Linked DNA regions of Homo sapiens: all the other regions are linked to region 1. Evidence: promoter capture Hi-C in 16 types of primary human blood cells and fetal thymus (Javierre and others, 2016). All regions are on one chromosome and are shown on one strand. The core of a region is centred on a gene start or on the middle of the fragment in contact, and the rest is flanking DNA. Distances in the headings are between cores, read along the strand shown.

What was found. Contacts are between HindIII fragments. The CHiCAGO score rates a contact against its expected background, and 5 or more counts as called.
Region 2: a contact is called between a fragment that was not itself captured here and the fragment with the promoter of GPATCH2 in region 1, in 1 of 17 cell types (activated CD4 T cells). The highest score is 6.7, in activated CD4 T cells.
Region 3: a contact is called between a fragment that was not itself captured here and the fragment with the promoter of GPATCH2 in region 1, in 1 of 17 cell types (fetal thymus). The highest score is 8.8, in fetal thymus.
Region 4: a contact is called between a fragment that was not itself captured here and the fragment with the promoter of GPATCH2 in region 1, in 1 of 17 cell types (naive CD8 T cells). The highest score is 5.2, in naive CD8 T cells.

Annotation. Positions count from the first base shown.
Region 1 is chr1:217,627,995-217,632,884 of GRCh38, forward strand. It overlaps GPATCH2 (G-patch domain containing 2), which reads right to left and starts at 3,096. Exons shown (of 10, transcript NM_018040.5): 1 at 2,922-3,096. The coding sequence starts at 2,977. It overlaps SPATA17 (spermatogenesis associated 17), which reads left to right and starts at 3,350. Exons shown (of 11, transcript NM_138796.4): 1 at 3,350-3,452. The coding sequence starts at 3,385. RefSeq lists enhancers at 3,035-3,104, 3,135-3,374. The HindIII fragment of the contact is 9,292 bases long and covers 2,673-4,890 here.
Region 2 is chr1:218,297,643-218,302,177 of GRCh38, forward strand. All of the region lies in intron 1 of RRP15 (ribosomal RNA processing 15 homolog), which reads left to right. Among named protein-coding and RNA genes, the nearest start is that of RRP15, 15 kb to the left of the region's middle. The HindIII fragment of the contact is 6,442 bases long and covers 1-4,535 here.
Region 3 is chr1:216,776,673-216,781,731 of GRCh38, forward strand. It overlaps a transcript of ESRRG not described here. Among named protein-coding and RNA genes, the nearest start is that of ESRRG, 56 kb to the left of the region's middle. The HindIII fragment of the contact is 778 bases long and covers 1,432-2,209 here.
Region 4 is chr1:218,314,540-218,319,100 of GRCh38, forward strand. The region is part of intron 4 of RRP15 (ribosomal RNA processing 15 homolog); the gene reads left to right. Among named protein-coding and RNA genes, the nearest start is that of TGFB2, 29 kb to the right of the region's middle. The HindIII fragment of the contact is 5,511 bases long and covers 1-4,561 here.

The sequences.
Region 1 (4,890 bases), core at 1,846-4,345:
TAGGCAAACAGTAAGTAGGAAATGAGTCTTATTTAATGTTTATATTAACATACAGTAACTGTTCAATAAAAATTTACTGAACATATAACCTGAATTCCTATAACAGGAATGAGAATGAAGACAACTGAATATTAATTAGAAGCATACTGCTTGACACATAACAGATTTTAAAAAATAATCTGCCAGATGAGCAAACCAATGAATGACTAAATGACTGAACAAAAAACAAAAGAAAAACATAATGACTAAAACTTTTAGACAATCCATATTCCAAATTTTCTGCTACATTAACAAGCCAGACACTCTAGGCTTTTAGCTAAGTAAATGTGAAGTTAAGGAAAAATTATCAAAGACAACGTAAAGGCTTCCAGCTTGACATAAATATGGATGCTAAGAAGCTATAACAAATTTAATGAATTACTTGAACAAAATCATACTGTTTATTGCTTTGATTCTTAATTGTTGAAACAAAAACCTGACTCAAACCTGCCAGTATGCAACTAAGTTCAAGACTAACAAACTCCAAAAAACAAGCAATTCAAAAAAATGCACACCATTTACTATGCAGTTTTCTGGATTTCAATAAAATCAAAATACCTAATAGGAATGAAAATGCAGAAACAAAAGTCCAGAGTCAATATAGTTTATTTTAATGGCTTTTTTTTAAGCAAAGCCACATAATAAAGTTAAAAAAAAAAAAAAAAGAATACCATAGTTGAATACAGAAATTATCCACATTTACCCATTTGGTGCCTAAAAATTGAAACAGCAACGTCCACACTGGAGAAGTTGAAAAAGTCAAGATGGGAGCTAAATAAGTCAGAAAATCCAGACTGGTTAACAAATTTGGGCATCTAACTGCTAGGTTACATATTCCTTGAGATATTATATCTCATTCAGACACATAGGCAACATATAAAAGTGGTTAAGAATTTTGGGGGGGTATACTGGAATCATCCTGCAAATATGATACTTAGGCCAGTTACTTAAACCATCTTTGCTTCTGTGTCACCTTATCTAAAATGCAAAGAATGATACACCTACCTCAAAAGATTTACATGAGATGACACATATTTGTAAAACCTGGCACCTAATTAACTGCTTAGTAGCAGTATTCCCAGTGGGACTGGAATTTATTACTGGGATCAAACATACTTATATAGTAAATATCTGTTCAATTAATGAAGAAGAAAATTCCATTAAGAAATCTGGAATTTTTACATTCCAGATAGTCATACAGATAGTCATACAGATAGACTAGAAAATAAAGATCCAGTTTTCTGGAACATATTCATTCTGACAGAACAGGAATGACTTTAGAATTTCATTCAAAAATACTAAGTGCTACCACTTTGTTATACTCTGGTGCCATAAGAAATGGTGAGTTGTATGACAAGCGAGCCTTTAAAGAGAATTGAAGGAGGTTTCTCTCAGTACCTAACCATGATTTTAAAGGTAAAAGAAGTTGAGAGAATCAATCACATTCTGATGTAGTCACCTACCCTACAAATCAATAGCACCCTAGGAAGAGCAGACCAATCTACATAGGACATTTTGTCTCCCTGACTTAACCAAGATAATGAACAGTGAAACATTAAGACAGGTATCCTTGAGAGGGAACTGTGGGGTGATGGACAAATCCATTATCTTGTTTTGTGTGGTGTTTACATAAGTATATGCAATTGCCAAAACTAATAAAATTAAGCCTGTAAAAATTGTGCATTTCATTCTATGCTAGTTATACCATTAAAAACTGGTTCATTTAAAAAATGCTCCCTACTTTTCTCACTGGAAAATGTAATAATTTACAAATAGTATAATCAAATCTATATTCACTATAAAATTAACTACAGGATGATCAGGTCCAACTAGAAATATTTTGGATAAGGTATTCTTTTAACTTTTCAGTGATAGGTGATGGAAAAGCAATTATCTGAGATCACAGACTACTAGAATTCCTCATGTTCTAATTTTTGCAGAATCTAGGAATGAACACGCACCATTTAGCCACATTTCTTTCACCTGTTGGTCAGAACTTTATGTTTGAGGATTTTCAATGGGAAATTGCTTGTTTGTGTCACTGGTTGTCTTATGTTATGTTTGGAGGAAAAGGGCTTGGGAGAAAAACAGGACAGATAATACAGAGTGTTCAACTAGAAATCCCCAAATCAGGATTCTAGCTCTAGGATTAAAATGTACAGGGCAACTTTGGACACGGTACTTGAATTTTCTGTGCTTGTGATATTCTGCTATCACAAGGCTGTCATAGGATAAAGTGTATTAATTTGTGGAAATACTTTGAAAAGTCAAAGCAATATATTATTCTAACATGATACCATAGACATAGTCAAGCCCCAAACTTAATCCTGACAGTTATAGGTTCTTGGAAAGCCCCCATACATATCTCACTTTAACTTGAATAGAATGTTCAAGAGGGTGGAAACAGGTAGGTTACCCTCTCTCTTTAAAAAAGGGGGTGAGAGGGTGATGTGTTTTCCACGATTGAACTTCCAGAACTCTAGATTTCTGGAATTTATCTTCCAAAAGACTTGGTATAATCTGGTAAATATTGAAAGAGGAGTGGGGAATAAGGCCCGGATTAAGATAAATTCTTCCTGTCCCTAGTGTTGTCAACAATCAATGAGGAGATGAATTGCTCCTGGAGTACAGGAAGCTTGACTTCTAAAATATTGTTAAACAAGCAATCAGAAAACATTTACTGTATTCTTTCACAAATCTTTGGCACACACCCAAGAGCTCCCTCAAACTGCGTGCATCCCAGGAATGAGTGAGAGCAAGGCCTAGATGTCTTCAGATCATCCATCACAGCTCCCTCCCGCCTCCATTCCAGGTCCAGCGGAGCGGCCTCGGGCAATCACACCCTTCCCTGACCTCCCCCTCCCCAGGGCCGCCAGCCTCACCAGCTGTTCCCGGCTGCTGGAGCTCCGATCGGTTGGCGCCCGGCGGCCCCGAACATTAACGACACCCGGGAGCCTGGCCTCGAAGCTCAGGCCCGTGAACAGACTCCAACTACAACAGCACCGGCGACTTCCAAAGAGCAGTTCAGCATTTTGAGATGAGCTTCCGGAAGCCGACAGGCGGCGGAAACCGGATGCCCGGAGCAACCATTAGTTCTCCGCGTTTACTGCTTTCCCCTTCCTATAATCCCCTCTTCCTACTCGCAGTAGAGACAGAGACAAATAAATTAAACTTTTGTGCTACACAGAAATTTCTTAATTCTCTTTTTAGTGCTCTTAAAGTCAAAGCAGCATGAGAGAAAAGAGGAGTGAACAAAAAGTCGAACCCCGGGAGTGAGCTATGGTTTAGCCCAGTTACCATGGAGACCGGTAGTAACACCAGTTGTAAACCCAAGGCCAAGAGACCATGGCCACGTTAGCCCGGCTGCAAGCTAGGTCGTCGACTGTAGGAAATCAGTACTACTTTAGGAACAGGTAAGTCAGGAAGAGAAGGATCGCGTAAAGGGCGGGCGTGACTTTATACCAGTTGTTCCTCAGCGGGAGTTTCCAATTAACGATTTAACGATTACCCTAATTCATTAAGTAGTACCCAATTCTTCCCTTAATGGGCTGCAAACATAATTGGGAGTTTCTGTTACCATACAACGAAATTCTAAATAGAGAGGGGCCGTAGATATTCAGTGTGAGATGATTTAAGGAAACTCCCAGCATAGATAAAATTGTAAAGTGCTTTTTTTCTTCGACATCACCACTCTGCAATTTGATGAAACCTATGTTCAATACCCTGACTGGGGGTCACCCTGACTCACTAGCCCAATGAACTCAGATTGTGTCCCATCTACCTAGGGATTTGAGCCTCCGTTATTTTACAAACATCACTAAACTCAATTGTTCTATGACTCATTCGCCTTTTTAAAATGAACGTATCTGCCGGGTGTGGTGGCTCACGCCTGTAATCCCAGCACTTTGGGAGGCCGAGGGGGGCGAATCACCTGAGGCCAGGAGTTCTAGACCAACCAGGACAACATGGTGAAACCCCGTCTCTATTAAAAATACAAAAACTAGCCGGGCATGGTGGCACATGCCTGTCATCCCAGCTAGTCCGGAGGCTGAGGCAGGAGAATCGCTTGAACCTGGGAGGCAGAGGTTGCAGTGACCCGACATTGTACCACTGCACTCCAGCCTGGGTGACAAATTAAGACCCTGTCTCAATAAATAAATAAATAAATATAAATAAAATAAAATAAAATGAAAGTGTCTAAACCATTCTGACACGGTAACTAGTACCAATATATTAATTAATAGATAACGGGTAAGAAAACCACTAGCAGTCTTCTTCATCTCCCTACAGCCAAACTTCTTGCCCAGGAAGAGTTTCATTTTAAAGAAGCATTGCCCCAGGAGTTTTTGTAACTTAAAAGAAACTGCAAAAAAGTGAATTAGACTATTATGGAATACAGTGACATGACAGACCAATGGAAAATATGTCAATGAGATAGGGTCTTGCTGAGCTGCTTTTATTCTAACGTTTATCTCACCTACTACATCATTATTTCACAACGTACCTCTCTTACAGCACTGATCACAATTCAATTTTACATTCTTTTATGAGATAATATCTATCTCCCCTCTTAAACTAGTAGCAGAGACAGTGTCTCTTATTTTGCTCACCATTATTTTTGTCTCCAACGTCTATGATAGCCCCATACAAATAATAGTAACACAATAATTGTTGAAGACTCACATTAATGAATTTTTCAATAAATCTGTAGCCCTGGTTTAAGTAAACATACTAACAATAGCTAAACATAGAAATTATCTATTTATTTAGAGTATGTGGCAGGTGCTGTATTTATGACATATATAAATGAAATAAGCCCCATCCATCATGATGTTCACATCCTTGTATGGA
Region 2 (4,535 bases), core at 1,589-4,088, 670 kb after region 1:
GAGTTCTGTTTGACTTAGGGCAAATTTTAAAGGTGTGAAGGAAGTTAAAGGTTAACCAATAGGCTTACCACTTTCAGGTGGTATTTACATTTTAAAAGAAAAACTGTAATAGAGAATGTTTTTAAAAGTAAGGACTTAAGATAAGTGCTAAGAGAAAAAATTCCAGCTATTTGGCCTTTTATTGGAAGCACACACCTGGAGTATGAACTTTTAAACTACTTGGTTTTAATCTTGGAATTGATGTGTATTGCATTTCTTGGATCATAAATCATGCTTTTATGAAATCCCAAACTTACTTTCTTTATGCCCAATTTTTACCATCCAATTCTCAAATCTTTTGTTTCAGCCAGTCTCAACTTGGTGTCATTTTATAAATATTTCATCATCTTTAACATTCCTATCCCTTTGGACATGCTGATTTCTTCTGCCTGGAATGCCAATAATAATATGATTACAATAGTAATTTTGATTTTCATACAGAGCACTGACTCAAATCTAGGATGTGTTTGGTTCTAGGTTCAGTGATCTTGCCGTCTGATCAACTGGCTTGGGTTATGGAATCTTACTTCCTTGGCTTCCTCCTTTCTTTTGTCATTCAAATTCTTGCATTAAGAAACAACTTGAATATCATCTTTGTAAAACTTCCTCTAAGCCATCCCAGATATCTCTGGTCACCCTTTCCTCATTGTTTTTCTTTAAGAACACCTACAAATTCTATTACAATTTGGCTATGTAATTTATTCACCCTACTAAACTCCTGAGTTCTTCAAGGAGAGAAACCTAGATTTAGATTTTTCCTTTGTCCTTTCTTGGCCATCACTCATAAGTGCTCAGTGAATGTTGAGGGACTGTGAGCCTTCTTAAAACTTTATCCCAGGCTAAGGAAAATGGCTCACTTTCCTGCCAGCAGCTAACCATTCGTATCTGGGGTCAGGGAACAGATGGCAAGTTTGAAAGGGAGCTGGAGGTTTGGGGGAAAAGGCAGCAGGAGATAAGAAATGCGTTATGACTACCTCAGTACGTCGGAGGTTTAGCCCTGCTCTGTTCAATATGGTAGCCTCTAGCCACATGTGATTTAAATTTAAGGTAATTAAAGAAAATAAAAATTCAGTTCTTCAGTTGTGCTAGCCACATTTGAAATACTCAATAGGCTCTTGTGGCTAGTGGCTACTGAGCAGCTTTAATAGAGAACACTGCCATGATTGGAACTTTTAGTCATTACTTCAATAAGCATCCTTTGTAGTCCTTTAAGTTCCAGATTTTTATAGTAGAATGCAAAATTAATGTTTAAGGCAACACACAGGACTTCAAAGGCATTTTTTACTTGTCTGGTGATTTCCGTCTATGCCCTTAGACACCTGGATATATCTGCTTCTGCTGTTATAAATCAGTGAGTGGAAAATTTTTTTAAAAACCTCATTTGATTAGGATATAATAATATTTTGAGCCAGTTCTATTTTCTGGTTTGCATAGTGATAATCTTTGATATCCTAGAAGTAAATCCTATTTTTTTAGTATGCTGGGAGACTTCATTACTTTGGCATTTTTAATTTGTTCATATTAAATGTCATCATTTTCATTGTCAGTGAATGCCTGATTAAAAACTTCTGAGATAGAGCTTCTTTAAGAAAATAATAAAATAAAACCATGACTTAAGGGAATTCTTCTGGATATTTTTTTAATTGGTGGGGTGAGTGCAGGTTGTATAAAATGGTGCTATAAACTTTTCATGGATTTATTGTGTGTTCATATTATGCATGTTGTGGTAGTCAAGCGGGGTAAGAAATGCACCAAAGAAAAATAGCCATGGTTTTGAAGTGGAGAATTGGTGTGGGTTACACCATCAGAAAGTGTTTCGGCTTGCTTTGGCTGCCTTTACAGTACCATTGAAAAACATGAAATCTGTGGCAATTTGTGTGTGAATACATCAGGACAAAACACTAGATGTCAGTGTTGCAGTTCTGACATGTTACCAGGAGCTAGTCAAGATTTTTCTGCTTTTAATCACCAAGATATTTTTTTATTGACCCAAACTTTTAAGCCATCTTGCCTCCTTACATTTAGTTAAATACTTACTACAGGAAGCACTTTTTCTAAGAATTGTTTATTTTGTTATTAGTGTCTGTGTAATGCTACTGACTCTGAAGAGTAAAACATATACAGTATTAAAATAATACAGTTTTCAGCTAACTATATTCTTCAAACTTTGTTTTCCAGTGTACTTTCCTGGGTACACTGGTCCTAGGAGATGCCTCTTGGGGAAACATTTTGTGGCCCTGGAATAAAATAATTCAGTCTTTTATTGAATTTGTTAATAGTGCTGCCAGCTTTTAATTTAGATACCTTTTTTTTTAGTGTTATGGGCAATAATAAGGTTCTTATATATTAACTATATTTGTATGTTAAAGCCTAGAGTCACAAATGTGTTCAGATTTCTTAAATTGACCCAGCGTATAAGATACAGAAAAAACTTCAAATTAAATGTTTTCATTAATTTTTTTGTCTTTATTAAGAAATATGCAGCTCTATTAGCATGATAGAATTGCAAGTGATTTCTTGTCTTTATAACATTTTCTTTTATACTGTTGGCATTTCGTGTTTTAAGATCATGCTTTTAAAAAATGTGAAATGTTATTGTTCTTTGCTATGTAATGTTCAGTTAGTTTTTTGAAGATACTTTATTTTTACTCATGCTCGAGGTTCATTTTTATATAGGCATGTTTTTATTTCCTACTTTCTAATTTGTTATTAATTTTTACTTGAAACGTATTAATGTTTTACATCATTTTTTGTTTCATGAATTTTCAGCACTGAAAAAATAAAGGTATTACGCAAAAATAATGCCCAAATTGCAAGTATTGTAATCACTTGCTAAAAGTCAGGTCTTTTTATGGCTTAAAGTCAAGAGAGTAGAGGGGATCACTCAGAAGGTAATACCTGACTATACACTGTCTTCCATTTACTTTGGTCATAACAATAAGCTGATATAAAAAGGCTAAGAGGATGTTTAAAGGCAAATTATGAACATTTTGTTGAAATTATTTAAAGAAGAAACTGAGCCTCGGAGTTGAAGAATAGATAATTTTGAAGCAACAACAAGACTCAATCAATAGACTTCTCAGAAGGTAGAAACAGCGGTTATGGTTCTGATGCTTGGCTTTGGTAAGGGTAAATGGACCCAGAGCAGCCTCACTGAAATGCTGCAGTGCTTTTGGCATATGGATTGCTTTCTAATCCTCTGCATTTAAGTGAAGGTTCTGATCCGGGTGGGTGGAACAGAATTGAGTAAAGTAAGGAGCAGCAGGAAACCTGCTTATGCCTTGGCCTTTTTCTTCTAGTGTTAAATAGTATTTTATCTTAATGCAAGTATATCAATATTTAAAAAAATACTTAAACTACTAATATTGTTACATTTGTAGAGGTACTTTGATAGGAAAAGTTTCAGCTAATGGCATTTTCTGTAATAATCTTTTGAGATTCAACTAGTTTTGGAGTCATCCAAAGAAAGTGCAGTTGTTTACCCAAAGACATCACTGCTAAATGGCAGCTGTTTGTATATTACTGAGTTTTCTTTCTTGTTGACTTCTCAGCCTTCTTTGTTAGCTCTTCTTCTGCTAATTAAAAAACACTCCAAGTTACTAAGCTATTGGATGATTGTCTTCTTCCAAGTATTTCCTAATAAGTTCTGCAGGTTTCTGAAGAACAGAAGCTCTCCAGAGGGCTCTGGATCATAGAGATGCATGCATGCAATGCTGGGTGCTTGTGCTCTCCTTGTTAAAGTGCACTTAATTTAAGAAGGTGAAAAAGAGCTGCTCAGCAAGTTGATTTGCAAGACAAGCCGCCTTCTGGACTATTGTTTCTGCTAATCTTCCTCATCCATTTGAATTTTAAATGATGAACTAGTTTGCTGGTAACCTGTAGGTGCTTTTTTTGGTGGTTCTCATGATAAAATTCAATGGTACACTTACACATTTGTATCTTCAATCAGAACTTGGTATTTTCATTCAGTCACTCAGTCCTACAATTGAATCTAGTATCTTGGGCACGTTGTTAGATAATTTTTTTTTCCAAAAATGTTAAAATGCCCAATTTTCTAATGTTATATGCAAATTCTTTTACATGAGGCTGATTTTTAGTTTTAGGCTTTTTTTCTGCATACAAATTCAGAATTTTAAATATCTGGGACAAATCCCTTAGAAGATTTATTCTGATAATACTGTACCTTTTTCTTATTAAAGTTTTCTGTTATTTGTTTTAATAACCTTCATTAGCCCCTTCCATTAGTTTAGTGACACAATTAAGGTTTGTGTACTTGAATATACCTTGCACCAACTCCATGCCAACATCTGTCACCATTTTGACAATAAGGACGTGGCAGAGGCTGTTGGATTTGTTTCTGCTGCCTGGGTCCTGGGTTTGGAAGCTGCTGTGACATCCCCTGTATATGTGGCTGGGCGAGGTCTCTGGGAGCTGATGGCAATGGGATAGATGGTCCTATTGCTCTTCATCATTACTGTAGCTGTGGGACTCAGAAA
Region 3 (5,059 bases), core at 571-3,070, 850 kb before region 1:
CATTGGTAGTAAGGGATTTTATGGAGTTCAGGAGGTAAAAGAATATTCCATGGCTTCCAAGACAATATCACAAGAGACAAGGACTAATCTCAAGACCCCCCAGTCCTGATCACATTAAAGAAGAAAGTAGTGATGGTCATGGAAGCCAGTGAAGGGTAGCACTGAGGCAACACTAGAAGTGTGGCCAGATGGGGACAGGGACAGAAGAGCCACACACCTTCACAACCATTGGGTATAGCATGTGCTAAGGAGAGGACCCAAGAAGTTGGAAGACAAACGAGGGCATCTCTAGGCATTTTTAACTGTAGGTTGGACTCCACACCTAGTCTTCTCTTAACCTTTTGAAGTGTATCTATCAGTGTTCTGGATTTATCCTACTCTCTTCCCAGTGAGGTACTACTGGCATGATCCATGGGAAGGGCATAATTCACAGATGGGGCTTGCCTACCCAGGCTGTAGTCAGCAGTGACATATTTTGTGACAGCTCTGTATAAAAGATGACGCTAACATAAATAAAATGCACTGTATATTATGGGGTAACAAAATTTAAAAGCACTACAGATCTACTCCTCCAGCAGTGAGGAGCCAAGATTTCAGTCTGTGAGAGATGGTGTTCCGAGGCAATGCTAAGAGTCTGCCTAGCAGCTCCTCCCATTCCCAACAGTGTCCCCGCAGTTGAGCTGTCAGCCAGCGCAACACGAAAACTCTCTCAACAAGAGCTAATGAAGAGCTGCCACAGATATTTATGATCTCATATCACACTTCCAGACTGCTGTTTCACTTTTTATTCCACTCATTTTGTTGAAGAGGTTTTTCTTTGTAATCTGTTACAGATCACTGAAAATGATGGATAAGAATCAGCAAGGGGTTGTGTAAGAACCACAGTGCTAGACTTAAATCTAAGTCTGAGTTTTGATTCAATCACTGAATAATTACATTCCTATTGGATACTCAGGGGAACTCAGTTTCCTAATCTTTAAAATGGGCATCTTGTCTTTTTCATTTCTATGGTCCCAACATCTAACACAATGTAATAGTCCTATTGTAAGTAATCCACATTCCTTTCTCTCTCTTTCTTATACACACACATAACACATACACATAAATTTGGCATTTACTTTTCTGAATGCAGGAATGTTTTCTTAAAAAGCTGATAAATTGTTTAACTTACATATCTTATCATGGAATGATACAAGTTCTCTCTATTCCATTATCTCTTCCATGCTGACTTATGAAGACAACCAGGCTTGCTATCAACAGTCAAACCTAGCCTTGCCACCTGCCTTCACCTACCTGGTACCTATCACTGCTAATGATCAGAAAAGCATCATGCTCAGATTAATTAAAGAGTAAGAATCTAGGAGTCATTTGAGTTATCTGGTCTCGGATCAATAGAAATTATAAAACAGACCAAACAGAGAAACCTGTTGAAGCTTGTATAGGTGAGCTTTCTTGGGAAGCAAGTTCTGAGATTTGTGTGCTGGGGGTGGGGTGTTATTAGAGAGTGCTCCTAAGAACTGAGTGGGGAGGGAAGTAGAAAACGGCAGAGGGAGGAGTTTAAGTGCAATGCAGTGGATCCCGCCAGGAGCTCCAAAGTTCAAATGCCTCTTCAGAGTTGTCCTTACTTGAGACAAGAGAGCTGGTCCTTTGTACCTCTACTTAGATCAGTCATTAGAGCCTTGGGAGAGGCATGGATAATTCCTGGGGAGGGACTCAACTGTGAACCATCACTTTTGGTAGCAGAGGGAATGAATTTCTTGGTCCTGGAAGAAGGTTTGAACAGCACACCACAGTATCCACTACAGAAGTGTTGTGTCGGGCCCTGACAGTCAGGGTCTATAGATCCCTGGGTCACTTGGCAGTCAAGCAGCAGTCTCTAATTACCTTTCTTGGCCCATCGCAGAGGTCAGAAGTGGGCTCCCTGTGACCCTGAAGTACTTCCTGACCAGGAAGTAGTCAACAGGCCCCAACAGACTATAGACACGCAGGAGGAGCCATACTTTTGGCTGAAATGTATTGTACACCCACTGCAAAATTGTACTACTTGATTAGAAATAGTAAGCCTTCCTCTACTTTTGAGAGCCATCCAGTTGGGATTCAACCTATGTGGAAGAAGTATCTAACTTCATTGTTCCGAAAGGAGGAAATACTAAGAAATGAAGCTCATTACTAACATCTGATAAACATACTGGAGATGAGACAGAAAGTAAGCTTTTGAAAAGAAACCTATCTATGCAACAGGTTCTCAGGGGAACACAGTGAATCAGCAATGTTAACCTGAAGCCATGGGCCTCTTCCTCAGTCACTCATCAACTCTGTTATGTCAATGCTGAAACAATGCCAGAATACAGAGCTGAACTGTAAAGATCCCTTCCTTAGTGGTTATTCATATTGTTTTCTATCTCTGTTATTATGTGGAGGCTTAAACTATATATATATATATATAATTATATATGTAAATATAAATATATATTTATATATATATAAAATAAATATATATATAATTATATAAATATATATTTATATTTATAAATATAAATATATATTTATATTTATAAATATAAATATATATTTATATTTATAAATATAAATATATATTTATATTTATAAACATTATATTTATATTTATAAACATTATATTTATAAATATAAATATATATTTATATTTATAAACATAAAATATTTATATTTATTTATAAAAATATGTATTTATATTTAAATAACTATAAATATTATAAAATAAATATTTATAAATTTATTTATAAAAATAAATATTTATAAATATAAATATAAATATATATTTATAAATATAAATATATATTTATATATAAATATATATTTATAAATATAAATATAAATATTTATATTTATATATATAATTATATATTATATATAAAATTTGTAAATGGCTAGGGCAATATCCTAATGCAGTCTGCCTTAGAAAAACTTGCACTGTTTTTAAAAAGTACTGGTTACAGTCTTACTTTTTGAGTTGTAATAGATTTAAAACTATTTTAGCACTTCTTGCTAACAATTTAGTCACAAATATTGAGGTAATTAGAAGTATCTTTGGGATCACAAAAGGGAAGGTGTGATTCATGTAGGCAGATGTTAGAAAAACATATTAAAAGGTTAGGATTTGGTATTTGGGGAATGACCTTGGACAGCTGGCTTATCTCTCTGACACTCAGTACTTTCATCTGTTCAAAGGGCATCATAATGCACCATTAGATTCACATTAAAAATCAAACAAGATGCCATGTATAAAGTGACTAGCAGCCAACATGTTCTATACACCTAAGATAGAAGCATGTTTGTTAGTTTCTTCTGCCTTGTCTTCTTCTACATAAACTCATTCAGGAAATTTTTTAAAGGCCATGTGCATGTTTCTATGGCTGAGATCTAAAAAAAAAGAAAAAGAAAAGTATGTCAAGAGGGCTCATGCAAAGAAATTGTGGCTCATGTGCCATAGCCAATGATTAAACCTTAATACAACTTGACAGTTTTAATTTTTATATAAATACCACCAGGGCCTATCATTCACATTATGGATTCCAAGCTTAACAAATGTAATTTAAAAACAACAAAGCTGCTTTTAAAGGAGTACTGTCAAAGCTCTGACATTTTCAAAATTGAAAATGCTCCGTGTATAAGATTTGAAATGGAAAACCCAGCAATTCTTCTCTTTCCCTGACAGAAGTTATCAGGATGGACCCTGGGAATGCCTGGAGATTTTTTAAGTTGAGTTATTGATAGATTGGAACAATTTCTCATGGAATCATACATATTTAGATATGGAATAAGAGCTAGAAATTGCTGAAATGTACTGAACCCTTACGAAATCAGATACTGTGTGTACATTATCTCTCTGTCACAGAAATTCTGTGGCTCTGTTACTATCAATATCTTCATGTTATCAAACAGAAAACTAGAGTGGAGGGAGATCTGAGGCTCTGTGCCTTTGGTTCCAGATGATTCTCCTTTAATCTATATTATCTGTATAACAAATCACATAGAGGGAGTGGGTTCCTACAGATGAGAAAACAGAGTCCAGGGAGGAGAAGGGATTTTCGAGGACCTACAGTGAGTTAGTGCCAAGGCAATGAACAGAACCAAGTTCCCAGACCTGTGTGCATTCTCACGTGCCTTATGTCCTCTCTGATTGTAGCCCTAGCATGAGAGGTTAAAATGTGAAACAAAGCTTCATATGTTCACGACACAACTAAGTATTGTGACTCTATTTAAAGATCATTTATTTATCAACAACATATATGGATCCTGTACCTTTCTACTTTGGCGCTAAATTCAACTAGTATAATTTCAAAATAAATAATTTTGTGGTATCATTTAATATGGTTAACTAAGTGCTTATTTTTAACCCAAGTTAAAATTAATAAGCAATGTCAATCTCTTATCCAAAACAAATAAGAAATACACCTGGTTTGTGACTAATAAGTATATAGAAGATGATAGTATATATTACTATTTTAACATCTTCACTATTGGCACAACATATTCATGTTTTCACTCAACAAACATTTATTGAGTACTTACTATGTGACAGGCACTGTGTGCAGTGCTAGGAATGCATCCCTGAACAACCAAAATAAAAAAAAAAAATCGCTTGCCTCAATCTTTGCTGGAGAGTAAGGCCATAGAGAAATGAGATAAATGTATTTAGTTTTTTCTTTTTAAGAGCAGTGTTAAAAGTAGCAGATAATAAATAACCACATTTGCAAGTATCTCTAAATGGCCTTCAAATTCTTCCCATTTCTCAACATCCAACAATGGATTTACCTGTGTGAGCATATGCAGAAGAGGTCCATCAACAAGTCAGTCAACATTTACGTAATGTCTTCTGCACTCCAATCGCTATACCAAACATACCGTCACAGTTCAAGAGAGCTTATATCTTAGTGGACTAATTAGAGCAAGTCAGAAGAAGTCAGCCAGCACACACACCACCCCTGGTACCTAATGCAGAAGAGACCGCCTTTACATGAGCAAATGGTCCTCTCTTCACTTCTGTCTCCTTTCGTGGTTACCTCAGAAAGCCAAG
Region 4 (4,561 bases), core at 1,219-3,718, 690 kb after region 1:
GGAAAGCATTGGCTTTACTTGTACTCTTGAATTACAGACTTTCTACAAGGTTTTCATTTATTTGAAATTGCCAATATATCAATTTCAGGTTTTTTTTTAATAATGAAACTGAAATTATAATTTTATAGTAAGGGAAAATGCTAGCTGGTTTCTGTTAGAAAATGATTTTTTGGCGGGACATGGTGGCTCACATCTGTAATCTCAGCACTTTGGGAGGCCGAGGCAGGCTGATCACAAGGTCAGGAGATCGAAACCATCCTGGCCAACATGGTGAAACCCCGTCTCTACTAAAAAATACAAAAATTAGCCAGGCGTGGTGGTAGGGGCCTGTAATCCCAGCTACTTGGGAGGCTGAGGCAGGAGAATCGCTTGAACCTGGGAGATGGAGGTAGCAGTGTGCTGAGATTGCGCCACTGCACTCCAGCCTGGTGACAGAGAAAGGCTCCATCTCAAAAAAAAAAAAAAAAAAAGAAAGAAAGTGATTTCCTTAGTGATTGCTAGACAATAATTTTTAATAGAAGTCCCTAGGAAAAAGAGTTACTGGAAGAGTCCAGGTATTTATTTTTTCTGATTTTGTGGTATGAGCACTTTAAATGTCATACATAGAGGTAAGGTAGGGTACTCCTCTATTTCTCATTTATTTGTCATAAATGGCAACCTTGTAATTTCTTCATAGGTAAATAATTAGTGGTGAGAATGCTTTTGAAATACCTGGCTTCTTTGGTATCTTACAACTTAGACCCAGACTCCAAATTGCTATGTACTTTTAAAAATGTGCATTTCTTCTGGTTCTTAGATCTGCTGAATTCTTGCTTCTAAAGACAGAAGCCTAGGAAAGGAGGACTTCCTCACCCAGGTCCCTTGGTGGGCCTCTGGCTATTTTCATTATTTACTTTTGGTTTTTCTAAGGCAGGATCTCACTCTGTCGCCCAGGTGGGAGTGCAGTGTCACGATCTTGGCTTACTGCAACCTCTGCCTCCCAGGTTCAAGCAATTCTCATGCCCCAGCCTCTTGAGTAGCTGAGATTACAGGCGCATGCCACCGCACCTGGCTTTATTTTTTTATTATTTTATTTTTTTTTTTTTGTATTTTTAGTAGAGATGGGGTTTTACCATGTTGGCCAGGCTGGTCTCCTCGAACTCCTGGCCTCAAGTGATCCTCCGACCTGGGCCTCCCAAAGTGCTGGGATTACAGGCTTGAGCCACCGTGCCTGGCCAGGATTTAGCTTTTAAATCAAGTTGGGGTGTGGAAGGCAGGCAAGGAGGTAGAGAAAGATGCTGTCCTTAGATTGCCTCTGCATTGCAGGACAACAGTGTTTTACTCTCACGTAAAGCTCTCTAACAGGAATGTGTGGAATCCTAATTTTGTAAATAATTCAGCTTAATGTTTGTTTACTGAAAATGCCTAAATAGAGCTTAGGCAAAAGTGAGACTCCATGTTTGAAATGAGAACAAGCAGGATTATACATATTACTGTTGATGGGAATGGTTTTAAGCCAGTTTCCCATTGTATTTATGTCTTTTAAAATATGCTATTTAGTTTTCATGTAGGGTGGTTTCTGATTTGAACAACAGTTTTAATCAAAATGAACTTAGGTTTGGCAATATGGCACATGCAGCATTTTGACTTATGGAAAATATGGATATTAGTGAAGAATAAGAACTAGTTATTACAGAACTGCTGTAGAAATCTTTAGTTACTGTTAACTTAAAATTAATGGTGCCATACATCTTTTTGCCCCTATATGAATAAATGTGCTATTTGAAGTGGCTGCCTGTATTGGATTTTCTTTAGTGAGGCTGAGGCTTTAAAAAAAAATTATCCTGCACAGATGAGTCTATGCATTTGACTTTTAAAAATGCATTATATTAAGACATCAGTCTTACATGTTAGCACCTATAATGCATTTTTAAAAGTCAGAATAATATTTTATTGCATCTTGGTAAAAATTACCATTTTTGAGTAGTAGGCAGTTGAGACCATTTGTGGGGATATATAACACATAGTACTAAAGCCACAGATTCTAGAACCAGACTGCCTGAGTTCAAAATGCCTGTTATATATAGTAGTAATAACAGTCCCTACCTCATAGGGATGTTGTGAGAGTCAATTAAGTTAATATACATAAAGCACTTAGAATGATGCTTAACACATAGTAAGTGCTGTATAAATGTTTGCAATAATTTTTATTTTCCATTGCATGCCATCAAAACGAGTTCCCTATATTGGTGCTTATTTTTTCTCTAAAAATTGTAGTCAAAGATGAATTCCAAAGTTGGAAACCAATTTGAAGGGGAACTCTTACTACTTTTTATCTGAATTATTGAATAATCCAAAAACCTTCCAATAATTTGATTAAAATTATGTTTAGATTTGGATATTCTCACTCACGTTAGGTGTGATGGCTCTAGTAATGCATAATTCTTAGAAAATATAAAACTAGATTTGAAGGAACTAGAAATGTGTCCACTTTCTCTTGTTCCCCATTTCCACTTATGGTTGAACTAACTGTATTACTTACAAGAATTTACTTATTAAGATAAGTTTGGTTTTTATGGGGGTGCTGTCATACTATTTGAATGTCATCATCTTTGTGAATAATGTGCAGAACATCATTAGAAGATCATACCTGTCCCAAGTTGGGGATTACGTGATACACAATGACTCGGCATCAGCAAGTAAGGATAGTGAGTAGAAGGACTGAGAGGGCACTTACTAGCGTATGCTTTGTGCCAGATGCTGTGGCAGATGTTTTTACGTAATTCCACTTCCAATAGAAAACTTCTCTTCCTTCTCTCACCCAGATGAGCTGGAAGAACTGTGGCTGGCTGATAAGCCACAGTGTCAGCAAGACTAGGAAGAGAATGGTGAAGGAAGCAGCTTGCATTCTGCTTTTTCCTAGGTCTCTCGTGCTGCTCATTTGATGTAAAGCATAATGAAGTCTGACACATTTTAAAATCTGATTTCTCAAAACTGTTATGTAAGATAAAATGTTAAACATAGTAAGATATTTTCAAGTTATGAAACTCATAAAACCAACTTAGAAAATTATTTATAAATTCAAGTTAGAATTGACTTTCTCTTCATTTGTCAAGGAATTAAAATTTACTAGAAATCAAATGCATCATGTATTTGATGATTGTGTGTCGAATACAGATTTTAGAATCTTCCCCCATGCCCCACACCCTTTTTTTTTTTTTTTTTTTTTAATTTAAAGACAGGGTCTTGGTGTGTCACTCAGGCTGGAATATAGTGGTGTGATCACAGCTCACTGCAGCCTCAACCTCCTGGGCTCAAGTGATCCTCCCTCCTCAGCCTCGCGAGTAGCTAGAGCCACAGGCACCATTAGGCCCGGTTGATTTAAAATTTTTTTTTCTAGAGATGGGGGTCTCATCATGTTGCCCAGGCTGATCTTGAATTCCTGGGCTCAAGTGATTCTTCTGCCTCAGCCTCCCAAAGTGCTGGGATTACAGGCGTGAACTCCCAGCTCTTTTATAAAAATTGTCAAACAAGAAGAAAATTACAAAGAATAGTAATATAACCACCTATATTTCTGTATTTCTACTTAGGTTTAAAAGTTGTTAACACTTACTGTGTTTGTGTTAATAGCTATCTGCCTTTCTCTCCATCTAGTTTTTGTTTGTTTAGGTTGATTATTTGAAAGTATTACCCCCATGTGCCCCGAAGATTCTCTTTTTTAAAAAAAAATCAGTTTTATTGAGGTATGATGTTCATATACCATACAATTAAAATTTTTTTATAACTTTTTGAGAATTAGAATTCAATTAAGTCTCACCTATTACATTTGATTCTGTCTTGTTCTCTTTTGTTCTAGACCAATCCCTTGTCTTTTTTTTTCTTTTAAAGACTAGCTTTTTAAAGAGACAAGCCAGTTGTCTTGAAGAATGAATAATGAATCCAGGCCAGTTGTCTTGAAGAATGAATAATGAATCCAGGTTTATGAATTTGTCTGATTACTTCATTATGGTGTCATTTATCTTGTTCTATGCCTTTTTCCTGTAAGCTAGAAGTTAGGACTACGGGCTTGCTGAGATTTAGGTTAAACTTTTTTTGCCATAATTACATCATATGTGTGACAGCTTATACTATGTACTTGCTATTGTAACACATCAGGAGACACATTATCAGAATGTTTCGTGCTAGTGATGCCAGTTTCCACTTGGTTAAAGTGATAATAAATACTTTTTTTTTTTTTATTAAAGGTGCACCCTCCCCACCTCCCAGTTAGAAAGTAATTTCTGGGACAAATAGTTTCACAGGAGCAAGTGTACCTGTCTCCATCTTTTGCCTTTTACCATCAATTAGTGATCCTTGCCTAAAACAGTTAAGTGACTTGAGGTTACAGAATGGTGATTTTCTCATTTGTTTTCTAATTTATTAGCTGACACTTTTCAAGAGATGAATTAAAGTTCCTAAAGATGGGGGTTGTTTCATCCCTTTTAATTATGGTCTTCCAGAGTAAGGAGTTTAATAGTCACCTCCAGTCTCTTCTTTTTTCTTTTGTCTTTTTTTTTTTGAGATGGAGTCTCATTCTTGTCAC